Regions from separate parts of the Homo sapiens genome. Here region 1 is linked to region 2. The links are contacts of gene promoters, found by promoter capture Hi-C in blood cells and fetal thymus (Javierre and others, 2016). All regions are on one chromosome and are shown on one strand. The core of a region is centred on a gene start or on the middle of the fragment in contact, and the rest is flanking DNA. Distances in the headings are between cores, read along the strand shown.

Region 1 (6,106 bases), core at 3,020-5,519, 1.6 Mb after region 2:
CCCTAGAGAGGTCGACAGTAGTGCAGAATGAAAACTTGGTCGGGGATGGCGGGTGGTGGGTGGGAGGAGGGTGGGCTGGCCGGGAGGGAGAAATGGAGTTTGTTCTACTTACTGATAAAGCTTTGTGAACTAATTTTATACAATTCATAAAATTTGGTGCCTTGTACTCAATTACGGTTTGCATGGAATTGAAAAGATTAAGGGAAAGGATTTCTTCTTGTCATTTCAAGTGGCAAATGGGTCTGTGTAGTGTTTAAAGGACATCTGGTATCACAGACTTTTAAAAAGCATTTCATGTCTCTTGTGTGTGAATGCAAATTATTCTTACCAGCAAGTTCTGAAATTATGTTACAATGTCCAAATTCTTTGTATTTGTGACTGTTCATCAAATGGCTGCTTTTCAAGGCAGACTGTGTACTCCATTGTTTTTCACTTCCCTTGTCATGTTCCATACATTGACTTGGGCCTTTTTAAATCAGGCTGGGGGGCTACCCCTTCTTAAATGAATACTATATCCCTATCTGAGGTTACCTCTTGTGAGTGGAAGGGTTGCTTTCCCAGGTGGTTGGGAGAGCACAAATGTTGAGAAAAGGCCTTTTAGTCTTTATCAAAACAATGACTAATGCTGGGCAACATATAGCAGAAGTCAAACAAAAATGATTCCTCCTGAAATGGTACCTTCATTGGTTCTGATGTTCTTTTGCAAAAAATGTCCGGAAGCAGTATAGAAAACCCCCTGTATGTGAACCTTAGATTGTAAGGCAAGCCAGTGCACTGTGTAATATGCAAAGGGAGTGGTGCAAAAGAGAAGGCACCCGTCCCAGCTCTCCATGCCCTTTCCCTGGCAGGCGCTGACTGAGATGGCGCTGAGTGAATGTGGAAGGTGCTAAGACCCAGTCTCTTCACTGCAGGGCTGTTTACAGCCAGTTTCTTTTACTCTGACCTTAAGGTTTCCACTGAGCTCATGAAACTTCAACATATGGTGTTTAAAAGTTTCCCACTCAAATGCACACTTGAAAATTGGGTCCCTCAGCCTCATTACTGAACTAAATAAGTGAAGAAGTTGTATCTTTGGGGTAAAACTTTCCAGGGCCACTTAATTTTTTAACCAGTTAAGTACGCATCTTCCTGGTGGTTCAGACTTTTTAAGTCAGTGCTAAAGCTGAAAAGCGCCTTCTAAATATGACTGTGAGTTTAGTTTGTATCTTACATTTAGTAACTGTTCTGTTGGGCCAGGACTATGACTTTAATTACTATGTACTTATTCATCCCACACTCTGCACTAAATACACCATAGCTACTATAGCATTGTGGCAGGCACTCATTTTTGTGGACTCATTCCATACTTCTGCTGGCATATTTCGTTTAAAATCTAGCTAAAGATTTTCATAGTACTGTGTTAACTAGCCAGGGCTGAAAAGTGTGACAGGATATCAAATTGACTTTCCTTGGGGAAAATGTTGCTTTGGCAATAGTGAAGTCCAACTCCTTCATTTACAGAATTAGTGATTACTCATCAATTTTTGAAAGTTGTAGATTAAGTAGTTTTATTTACTAAATTCTTAACCACTTTGAAGATTTAAGCCAGTTGAAATGAAACATTGGCTGGATGCAGTTGGCTAGCACCTGTAATCCCAACACTTTGGGAGGCCAAGGTGGGAGGATTGCTTGAGGCCAGGAGCTCAAGACCAGCCTGGGAAACATAGATTTGAAATCTTTTCAAAAATGTATAAAAATTTAATAAATAAATAAATGAATCCTTACTCAACCATAATTATGGCTTTAAAACCCAACCAACAGTAAACACTTACTTGAAGCCAAAACAGTAAATTTTGAATGAAATTTGAATTATGCTTTTGGAAGCTGCCATGTCTTAATTCTTGCTGGATTTTGATTTTCAATTTTGGAAGTTTTTATCAAAACTGTCCAGTCATGAGTATATCAGGTAGCAGCCTTTAAGGATCTAAGTTTCATTCCTATAAAGAACAGGAGGTGCTGGTATTTCTTGTCTTAGCAAGTGATCTGATGCAGGTCTAAATGGGGGTTAGCATCTATACTATGGCTTAAAAGTTTCCTCCTTGGTCACCATTTGGGAGGTGATGGCTTCAAAGCTAAGCTTTGCTCTCATGTGACCCTTCTTTATCTTAATACCCAATAAGATATAAACCTCTCAGAGTCAACCCAGTGTAGACTCAAAGGGTCTTAGCTTCATCTATCAGATAAGATCTATCTGATTTATACAAAGAATGGTGCTGTTTTTATATACATACTAAAAAAATCTAATTCTCAAACAATTTTCTTAATATTTATGCCAGCAAGGTCAGGAAAGACTATTTTGTCCTGTTTAACTTTAGTAGTGAACAAACTGCTAGAGACATCTGTCATCCTTAACAGGCCACTGTGGTCCTTATATACTGACCCTCCTTTCCAATTAACGTCCTTTAATCCCATACTAGTTCCATAAGAGACTTGGCACATAAAAGCAGTATTTTTTTTAATGCCTAGTAAACTGGCCAGAAAAAAATATTGCCATGGTGGACCTGTTTCTATCCACCTCTTTCTATGGCTATATAAGTCTATACATGCCAGTTCCGTACATACTCCATTTCCAAAGAGCCCCCAAACCCTGGACAGTAGCACTACCATGAATTTTAGGGTCACAAAACATTTCCTTCTGAAGGAAGCAGCTGCCTCAGCAGTGTCACTTTAGTGACCACTGCCCAGGCTTACTTCACTTTGCCTCCCCCTACACATCACTGCCCTCTTTCTGCCACCAAACCTCACTATTCCAGCAATGATGCCTCCCTGGTGTCTGGAAAACCCATCTGGTGCACTAAAATGCTATGCAACACCAAATGGCTTCTTCCCCTAATATTGCTCAACAATGTAAATTCTTCAAGAATAAACTTCATGCTAGGTTAACATCAATGTATGGTTACAGCTTCCTTTTTTTTTTTTCCCTTTTAAAATGAAGCAAACCACCTCCATTAAAATCCATGTTTTGGGGCTTGTTTTTGTCTCTCAAGTGTGAAATATAAATCATGTTTTTATGATTTTTGTAAATCTTTTTACACCTTGTTTTTGTAAGCAAAAGTTTCTTATTAAAAGAATAAAATGACTGCCTTTGTGTGCGGTATTTATTTCAAATGTTTTTTAAAACAGCACTGTTATTTCTCAGGACAAGAGCAAAAATCACCCCCTGCAGAAGCTTGGGAACTATGTACAGAACTTTACAGAATAGAGGCAATACTTTAGCTTAAGCCTGTCTGCTGACCAGAGAATGGAATTCTGCGTGGACTCAAGGAACAAAAGGAAACTAGGCAGGGAAGGGGAAGAAAAGTGCCCATCTGAATCAAACTTCAGCTGCCATCAGGGCACATCTTGTGGTGGTCACAGATTGTAGGCTGTTTTTTGGAAGATTCGGGTTCAGCACAGGATTCCATTTGTCTGCAATCAGATGATAAGACGACAGGTGGCATTAGAACTGTAAAAGTATGGGAGGGAAACTGGTAAGAGATACTTAAATCCCTTTCAACATCTGAAAACACATTTAACTAGGAATAGTTAAGGGTTTTACATCACATTCTTTTGTACATTTCATGAATACTTGACAGAAAACATTGCTTCACCCAGTCTCTAGGTCTCCTAAGACACGCATGGGTGTAGTTCAGTGCTTACCTACTTGGCTACACCCCTGGCTGAGGTGCCATGAGGTCAATGTCACTCAAGTTCCTGGCCAGCCAAACTCCCGCAGCAAAGAGTCCCAAATTTAGTATCAAGTTCCTGGAAAAACAATGTGTTTTATTAACCCTGTGGTCACTGAGTCAGTTGTACAGTTAACGAAATGTACTGGGGGGAAAGGCTTCCATCACCACCTTCCCGAGGCGTTGATACGTGGTTGTGACGGCAGGTTGCTCAAGACCCACGTGGGAATTTGGAGTTCATTTTTGTGCCTAGTAAGTGTAAGGTCAGGCTGGGCGCGGTGGTTCACGCCTGTAATCCCAGCACTTTGGAAGGCCAAGGCAGGCGGATCACGAAGTCAGGAGCTCGAGACCAGCCTGGCCAACATGGTGAAACCCCGTCTCTACTAAAAATACAAAAATTAGCTGGGCGTGGTGGTGCGCGCCTGTAATCCCAGCTACTGGGGAGGCTGAGGCAGGAAAATCGCTTGAACCCGGGAGGCGGAGGCTGCAGTGAGCTGAGGTCCGCCACTACACTCCAGCCTGGGCGACAGAGCGAGGCTGTCTCAAAAAGAAATAAATGTGGCCGGGCGCGGTGGCTCACGCCTGTAATCCCAGCACTTTGGGAGGCAGAGTCGGGTGGATCGAGAAGTCAGGAGTTTGAGACCAGCCTGCCCAAGATGGTGAAACCCCGTCTCTACTAAAAATACAAAAATTAGCTGGGCGTGGTGGCGCGCGCTTGTAATCCCAGCTACTGGGGAGGCTGAGGCAGGAGAATCGCTTGAACCCGGGAGGCAGAAGGGGCAGTGAGCCGAGATTGCGCCTCTGCACTCCAGCCTGGGCGACAGAGTGAGACTCCGTCTCAAAAAAAAAAAAAAAAAAAAAAAAAAAGGCCGGGCGTGGTGGCTCACGCCTGTAATCCCAGCACTTTGGGAGGCCGAGGCGGGCGGATCACGAGGTCAGGAGATCGAGACCATCCTGGATAACACGGTGAAACCCCGTCTCTACTAAAAATACAAAAAATTAGCAGGGCGTGGTGGCGGGCGGCCGTAGTCCCAGCTACTCGGGAGGCTGAGGCAGGAGAATGGCGTGAACCCGGGAGGCGGAGCTTGCAGTGAGCCGAGATCGCGCCACTGCACTCCAGCCTGGGCAACAGAGTGAGACTCCGTCTCAAAAAAAAAAAAAAAACAAAAAAGAAATGTAAGATCAAACGCAAAGCCCAGCTAAAGCACTAGTCCAGGGCCGAAAAAGCCTGTTTACGTGCTAGCACTTCTTCCCTTGATCAGGGTGACATTACAGATACAGCCACATGACAGAAAGATCGCTTTTGCCACACGGGAACTCTCCTGGCCAGGGATCTCAGTGAGGCACAGCCAGAGCTACGAAGACGCCACAATGCTGGTAATGTTAAAAAACAAAAACAAAAAACCCTGAGGCGCCAGCCTCGCAAGAAAGGGGAAATACGGATTTAAGGGCCAGAAAAGGACCAAGTTCCTCGGGCTCGGTTACCTCCGGAAGTCATTCCTATCAGTGGCAAAGCGGTAGACGCCCCGAAGCCAATCTCCCACGTTGTCCGGTATTTCGGGAGTTTCATTAGCCGAGCCAGCAGCGCTCACCGGGACAGTGCTGGAAGCCATAGTGGAAAGCTTCGCATGGGCCTCGGTGGAGGAACCGTATCGGCGTCGCCGGTGAATGACGCACCTCCGGTCTGGCACTTCCGGCTGCTACCGGCCGGCAGTGGGGGCGCTGTTCGCTTAGTCCGACATCCGGAAGAGGGACGGCCCTCTGCTGCGCCTCCACGAACTCTAGGAGGGGAGGAGCGCGGCCCGGTTCTACGGTCCCCTGCTCCCGGTCCCACCTCCGGCTCTCCAGCCGGTAACTGTCACGCGTGCTGTGATCATTTAATTGGCTTGGGAGGAGGATGGTGGGGACGGGGCTGTCCCAGCCTGTGGAGGTGGGGGTAGGGGCTATCTCAGCAGGGGAAGCGTAGCTTTGGGGAATGGGTTTTGCCAAGAAAGTCTCCGCCAAAAGTCTTAGAACGCGCAGTACTGAAGGGGGCGCACTCCAAACTTGTCACCTCGCCGCCTCTTGCGGGCGTGCGCCTGACTGCGTCTCAGTCTAGGATTGTTAGGGGGAGGCTAGCCTTGTTCTCCCGCTTTACAGACCCCTTTCCTCCCACTCACATCCCCTCTCTGAGCTGCGCCACTAGCACATGGTGCAGTGCGTCTTAGAGGCGTTGCTGTCCTCTGCTTGGAGGCTTCCGGGGGTCTTCCAGGACTGGGGAAGGCGCTCGCCTAAGAAAAATCCTTCAGGTTCCGAGTCAGAGGAGGAGGAGCAGGTGGAGAAAGGGGTGTCCTTGGGATCACGAATAGTCTCCAGGCGGCATTGCTCCTGCCCTTTGGGTGCCTCCGCTTTGTCCCCAGGTC
Region 2 (5,635 bases), core at 1,551-4,050:
GGCAGGTGGATCACTTGAGGCCAGGAGTTCAAGACCAGCCTGTGTAACACAGTGAAACTCCATCTCTAGTAAAAATACGAAAACTGGCCAGGCATGGTGGCACATGCCTGTAGTCTCAGCTACTCTGGAGGCTAAGGCAGGAGAATCGCTTGAACCCAAGAGGTGGAGGTTGCAGTGGGCCGAGATCGTGCCACTGCTCTCCAGCCTGGGTGACAGAGTAAGACCCTGTCTCAAAGAAAAAAAAAATTTTTTTCTATTTCTGGCTGGGCATGGTGGCTCACATTTGTAAACCCAGAACTTTAGGAGGCTGAGGCAGAAGGATTGCTTGAGCCCAAGAGTTCAAGACCAGCCTGGACAACAAAGCAAGGCCTTGTCTCTACTAAAAATAATTTTTTCTTTTTGAGACAGAGTCTCGCTTTGTCGTCCAGGCTGGAGTGCAGTGGTGCAATCTTGGCGCACCACAACCTCTGCCTCCTGGGTTCAAGCGATTCAAGATGGGGTTTCACCATGTTGACCAGGCTGGTTTCAAACTCCTGACCTCCAGTGATCTGCCTGTCTCAGCCTCCCAAAGTGCTGGGATTACAGGCATGAGCCACTGGGCCCGGCCAATTTTTTGTATTTTTAGTAGAGATGGCATTCTGCCACGTTGGCAGGCTGGTCTCGAACTCCTGGCCTCCTACAGTGCTGGCATTACAGGCTTGAGCCACTGCACCCGGCCTATTAAAAATAATTTTTAAAAAAATTAGCCAGGTGTGGTGGCATGCACTTGTGGCCCCAGCAAATCAAAAGGCTGAGGTGAGAGGTTGCTGGAGCCCAGGAGGTTGAGGCTGCAGTGAACTGTGATTGCACCACTGTACTTCAGCCTGGGCAACAGAGGGAGACGCTGCCTCAAAAAACAAAACAACAATAACAATCCCCCCTCCCCCCCGCCACACACACACACACACACACACACACACACACACACAAGAAAGAAAAGAAAGAAAGAAAAGAAAGAAGGAAAAGAAAAAAATATATATATTTCCTAAGATGTGGGGACCCAAGAAAGAACACTGGGCCCTTGGAGGCATAAACTGGCCCCAAGTTGGCCATCAACCAGCCTCATCACCCCTTCAAGTCTCTTTTCCTCTCTGAATCTCACTTTCCTCACCAGTATGGTGAGCAGTGAGTCTCAAGTTAAAGCCTTCTGAGGCCCTTTCCTGTCTTAGATTCTCGATCTCTCTAACCCTTCTCAGCAACACACACAAGGCTGATAAGTGAAGTGAAGCACAATTTCTATTGATCACATGATGGTCTTTCTTGCTTTCCCAGGGGGCGGATGAATCCCTTCCTTGGATAGGAGAAGCTGTGTATCCGCTTGGTCTGGGAGGAATCCTGATTTGTTTCTTACACAGAGACAAAAGTCTAGAAGGGTTTAATCACCTAGCATAGACAGCCTTCTCAGAAGAGCAGCTATTAAAAATTGGCACAGTCTTTTGGGAACTCAGTCTAATGAGAAAGCAAGAAAGACCTCTTGGATAGAGACACTTCCCCCCATCAGACTAGGAACTCCCAAAGGCAGAGACCACACCGTCCTCCTATCTTCTCGGCAGCCAGAATGAGACTAACTTTAGTCATCTCTAGCCATACAAGAACTAAATACAAAATCAAGTTGAGTTTAGCATCCACACCTTATAGCCCTTAATTGGGGAAGGCTTAATGTTTGATTTTGCTCTTCTTGTCTATCTACTGCTTCCTCTTCAGCTGAGCCTAGGTATGCTTTTCTTAATCTGGAAACACTAAGGTTTCATGGGTTGCAGTGGTGAGAAACTGAGCCTACAACTTAAACACATCATCGCTTTTGGCTAAAAACGTTGTTCCCCCAATTCTGCCTCCAATTCATGACAGCTGAGTCCGGGTAGCTGAAAATGGACAATTCTGATGATTTCTGATACTCATCGGACCTTTAAAAACATGCCAGGCGCTGCACTATATGCTTAAATTCATTATCTCATTTAAACCTCCCAACAATGAGACTCAGAGAAGGCAGGTACTTGCCCAAGAACAGCCACATTGCTGCTAAGTAGCAATGCTTAGATTTTATTCTACTTCTGCCCTACTCCAGAGACCTCGCTATTCTGGTGACACTGCCGGAAGATGTAGGCCGCGGGTGAGATCTGCAGGCACACATGGACAGATGCCTTGCGCCCGTCTCTACCCACCTCGGGGTGCCCAAGTAACAGGCACTGAGCACGGCGAGGAGCGCGTGGGGCAGGGCGCTGAGCACCAGCTGGGTGAAGCAGTGGCCTGTGGTGTCCCCCTCCCACAGCGGGAGCGGCCACGCTGCGCTGCTGCCGCACAGCTGGGCCAGAAGTCGTTCCATGGACGCCTCACCTGAAGGGAAAGTTGAGGGTGACGGCTGTGCAGGGTAACAGCCGGCTTTGCCTGCACTTCCCAGCCGGGTCTCCCTGTCTCCAGCCCCGCCCTGGAACCGGGACCGCCCGTCGCTTCCGCCCCGAAGCCAGACCCCGCCCATTCTCGCGGTACCAAGGGTAAAAACGGGAGGAGGTTTCCCCAGTGGATTTCTGGACGCTGGTCACCCACCTTGCCATCTGTTTTTCCCCTCCCGTTTCTCCGCCCCCAGGCATCCGGAACCTCAAACCTGAAGAAGCTGCTGTGCACCGGATTCCGATATCCTGAGAACTGGTGTATGCAAAAAAAAAAAAAGTACTGCCCGGCCGGGGTGCTGGGCCCGCCCCGGCTGGCACCCCACCTAGAGGTTGGAAGACCTAGCCGGCGCTATTCGCCACGCCCATATGCTGGTAGCTGCACGCATGTGCACTGCTCTCTGCTTCGGCTGGCCTTTGCACGCAGGCGCGCTGGTGCAGACGCACAGTTGCGTTTTGGTACGCTTTTGTGGCCTGACTTGCGTTAAGGATCCATCCCTCCCTTAGTGCAACGTCATTTATAACCTCTCACGTGGAGTATTCGCTCACAACTGTGTAAGCTTACTAGTTGGCACAAGCATTGCAATCTCCATTTCTTGAAGAGGTGGGGAGCCGGGCACGGTTGCGCGCCTCGGTAGTCCCTGCGCGCCCGTAGTCTCTGCGCGCCGGTAGATCCCAGGAGGATGGCCTGAGCCCAGGAGTTCGAGAACAGTCCAAGCAGCATAGCGAGACCCCAGTCTCAGATAGATAGATGGATGGATGGAAATTCAAACATACCTGCCCCACGGACAAATAATGCCATTTTGGGACACACTGTTTTCCCTTATTATTCTAGGGCTGCATGACCTTGGACAAGTTACCTAACTTTTTTGAGCCTCAACTTTTTTTTGGGGGGGGGACGGAGTCTCGCTCTGTCACCAGGCTGGAGTGCAGTGGCACAATCTCGGTTCACTGCAACCTCCGCCTCCCGGGTTAAAGCGATTCTCCTGCCTCAGCCTCCCGAGTAGCTGGGACTACAGGCGCGCGCAACCACGCCCAGCCAATTTTTTTGTTCGTATTTTTAGTAGAGACGGGGTTTCACCATGTTGGCAAGGATGGTCTCGATCTCCTGACCTCGTGATCCGTCCGCCTTGGCCTTCCGAAGAGCCGGGATTACAGGCGTGAGCCACCACCCCGGCCGAGCCTCAACTTCTTTATTTGTACAACAGGGACAATACCAATACTAAAGTACTGTTGAGAGAGTTGAATAATTAATTTAGAGTGCTTAGGGCAAGTGCTTTGCCTAGGGTAGTCCTCCAATAAATCTTTTAAGGAAGCAGTGGGAAGAACATAACCTTTATAATTATACGGACCTGGGTTTGAATGCTTTTAGCAGAGGGATGTTGGGCAGGTTACTTCTGCATCTTTATTTTATTATGTTTGTCAGGCATGGTGTTGGTATCCGCCTTTACATAGGTGTGTACAGTGCTTGAAGAAGAAAAGCTAAACAAATGACAATTATGGTTATCCCACTTAATCTCAGTAAGAAGCCCCATATCCCTCAACGTCAAGAATTAATTTTCCTATTTTTAAAAACTAAGAGATGTAGGTTTGCATTTCACAATCTTTAGTAATTAATTAACAGAGTCTTGCTACCTGGCCCAGGCTGGTCTTGAACTCCTGGCCTCAGGTGATGCGCTTGCCTTGGCCTCCCAAAGTGCTGGGATTATAGGTGTGAGCCACTGCACCTGGCCAGGCTCCACTTCTAATTCTAATTCACTTGCTGTTTCCATCACATCTGCAGTTACTTCCTCCACTGATGTCTTGAAGGTCCATCCGTGAAGGTTGGAATCAGCTTCTTCCAAACTTCTGTTAATGTTGATATACGTTGTCCTCCTCCCATGAATCCCATGAATCACAGTTTTTTATTTATTTATTTATTTATTTTTATTGATCATTCTTGGGTGTTTCTCGCAGAAGGGGATTTGGCAGGGTCATAAGACAATAGTGGAGGGAAGGTCAGCAGATAAACAAGTGAACAAAGGTCTCTGGTTTTCCTAGGCAGAGGACCCTGCGGCCTTCCGCAGTGTTTGTGTCCCTGGGTACTTGAGATTAGGGAGTGGTGATGACTCTTAACGAGCATGCTGCCATCAAGCATCTGTTTAACAAAGCACTTGCACCGCCCTTAATCCATTTAACCCTCAGCGGACACAGCACATGTTTCAGAGAGCAGGGGGTTGGGGGTAAGGTCATATATTAACAGCATTCCAAGGCAGAAGAATTTTTCTTAGTACAGAACAAAATGGAGTCTCCTATGTCTACTTCTTTCTACACAGACACAGCAACAATCTGATTTCTCTATCTTTTCCCCACATTTCCCCCTTTTCTATTCGACAAAACCACCATCGTCATCATGGCCCGTTCTCAATGAGCTGTTGGGTACACCTCCCAGATGGGGTGGCGGCCGGGCAGAGGGGCTCATCACTTCCCAGAAGGGGCGGCCGGACAGAGGCGCCCCCCACCTCCAGGACAGGGCAGCTGGCCGGGCGGAGGCGCCCCCCCCCACCTCCTGGACGGGGCAGCTAGCCGGGCGGGGGCTGCCCCCCACCTCCCGGACGGGGCAGCTGCCAGGCGGAGACGCTCCTCACTTCCCAGACAGGGCAGCTGCCGGGCGGAGGGGCTCCTCACTTCTCAGACGGGGCGGCTGCTGGGCGGAGGGGCTCCTCACTTCTCAGACGGGGCGGCCGGGCAGAGACGCTCCTCATCTCCCAGACGGGGCGGCGGGGCAGAGGCGCTCCCCACATCTCAGACGATGGGCGGCCGGGCAGAGACGCTCCTCACTTCCTAGACGGGATGGCGGCCAGGCAGAGGCTGCAATCTCGGCACTTTGGGAGGCCAAGGCAGGCGGCTGGGAGGTGGAGGTTGTAGCCAGCCGAGATCACGCCACTGCACTCCAGCCTGGGCAACATTGAGCACTGAGTGAATGAGACTCCGTCTGCATTCCCGGTACCTCGGGAGGCCGAGGCTGGCAGATAACTCACGGTTAGGAGCTGGAGACCAGCCCGGCCAACACAGCGAAACCCCGTCTCCACCAAAAAAAATATGAAAACCAGTCAGGCGTGGCGGCGCGCGCCTGCAATCCCAGGCACTCGGCAGGCTGAGGCAGGAGAATCAGGCAGGGAGGTTGCAGTGAGCCGAGATAGCGGCAGTACAGTCCAGCTTCTGCTCGG

What was found. The method cuts DNA at HindIII sites, captures the fragments that hold promoters and counts their contacts. A CHiCAGO score of 5 or more calls a contact.
Region 1: a fragment that was not itself captured here is called in contact with the fragment with the promoter of ABCC10 in region 2 in 1 of 17 cell types (fetal thymus); the score reaches 6.1 in fetal thymus.

What each region holds. Positions count from the first base shown.
Region 1 is chr6:41,786,909-41,793,014 of GRCh38, reverse strand. TOMM6 (translocase of outer mitochondrial membrane 6) reads right to left here and starts at 5,321. Exons shown (of 3, transcript NM_001382294.1): 1 at 5,190-5,321; 2 at 3,679-3,783; 3 at 3,120-3,447. The coding sequence starts at 5,317. The coding sequence ends at 3,687. It overlaps USP49 (ubiquitin specific peptidase 49), which reads left to right. Exons shown (of 8, transcript NM_001286554.2): 8 at 1-3,119. It overlaps PRICKLE4 (prickle planar cell polarity protein 4), which reads right to left. Exons shown (of 8, transcript NM_013397.6): 8 at 5,563-6,106. The coding sequence ends at 5,886. RefSeq lists enhancers at 4,874-5,563, 4,634-5,633. The HindIII fragment of the contact is 2,118 bases long and covers 3,211-5,328 here.
Region 2 is chr6:43,424,706-43,430,340 of GRCh38, reverse strand. ABCC10 (ATP binding cassette subfamily C member 10) reads right to left here and starts at 2,800. Exons shown (of 22, transcript NM_001198934.2): 1 at 2,584-2,800; 2 at 2,202-2,373. The coding sequence starts at 2,362. It overlaps LOC105375065 (a long non-coding RNA gene), which reads right to left. Exons shown (of 6, transcript XR_007059585.1): 6 at 4,327-5,635. RefSeq lists enhancers at 2,154-2,223, 4,325-4,846. The HindIII fragment of the contact is 12,589 bases long and covers 1-2,988 here.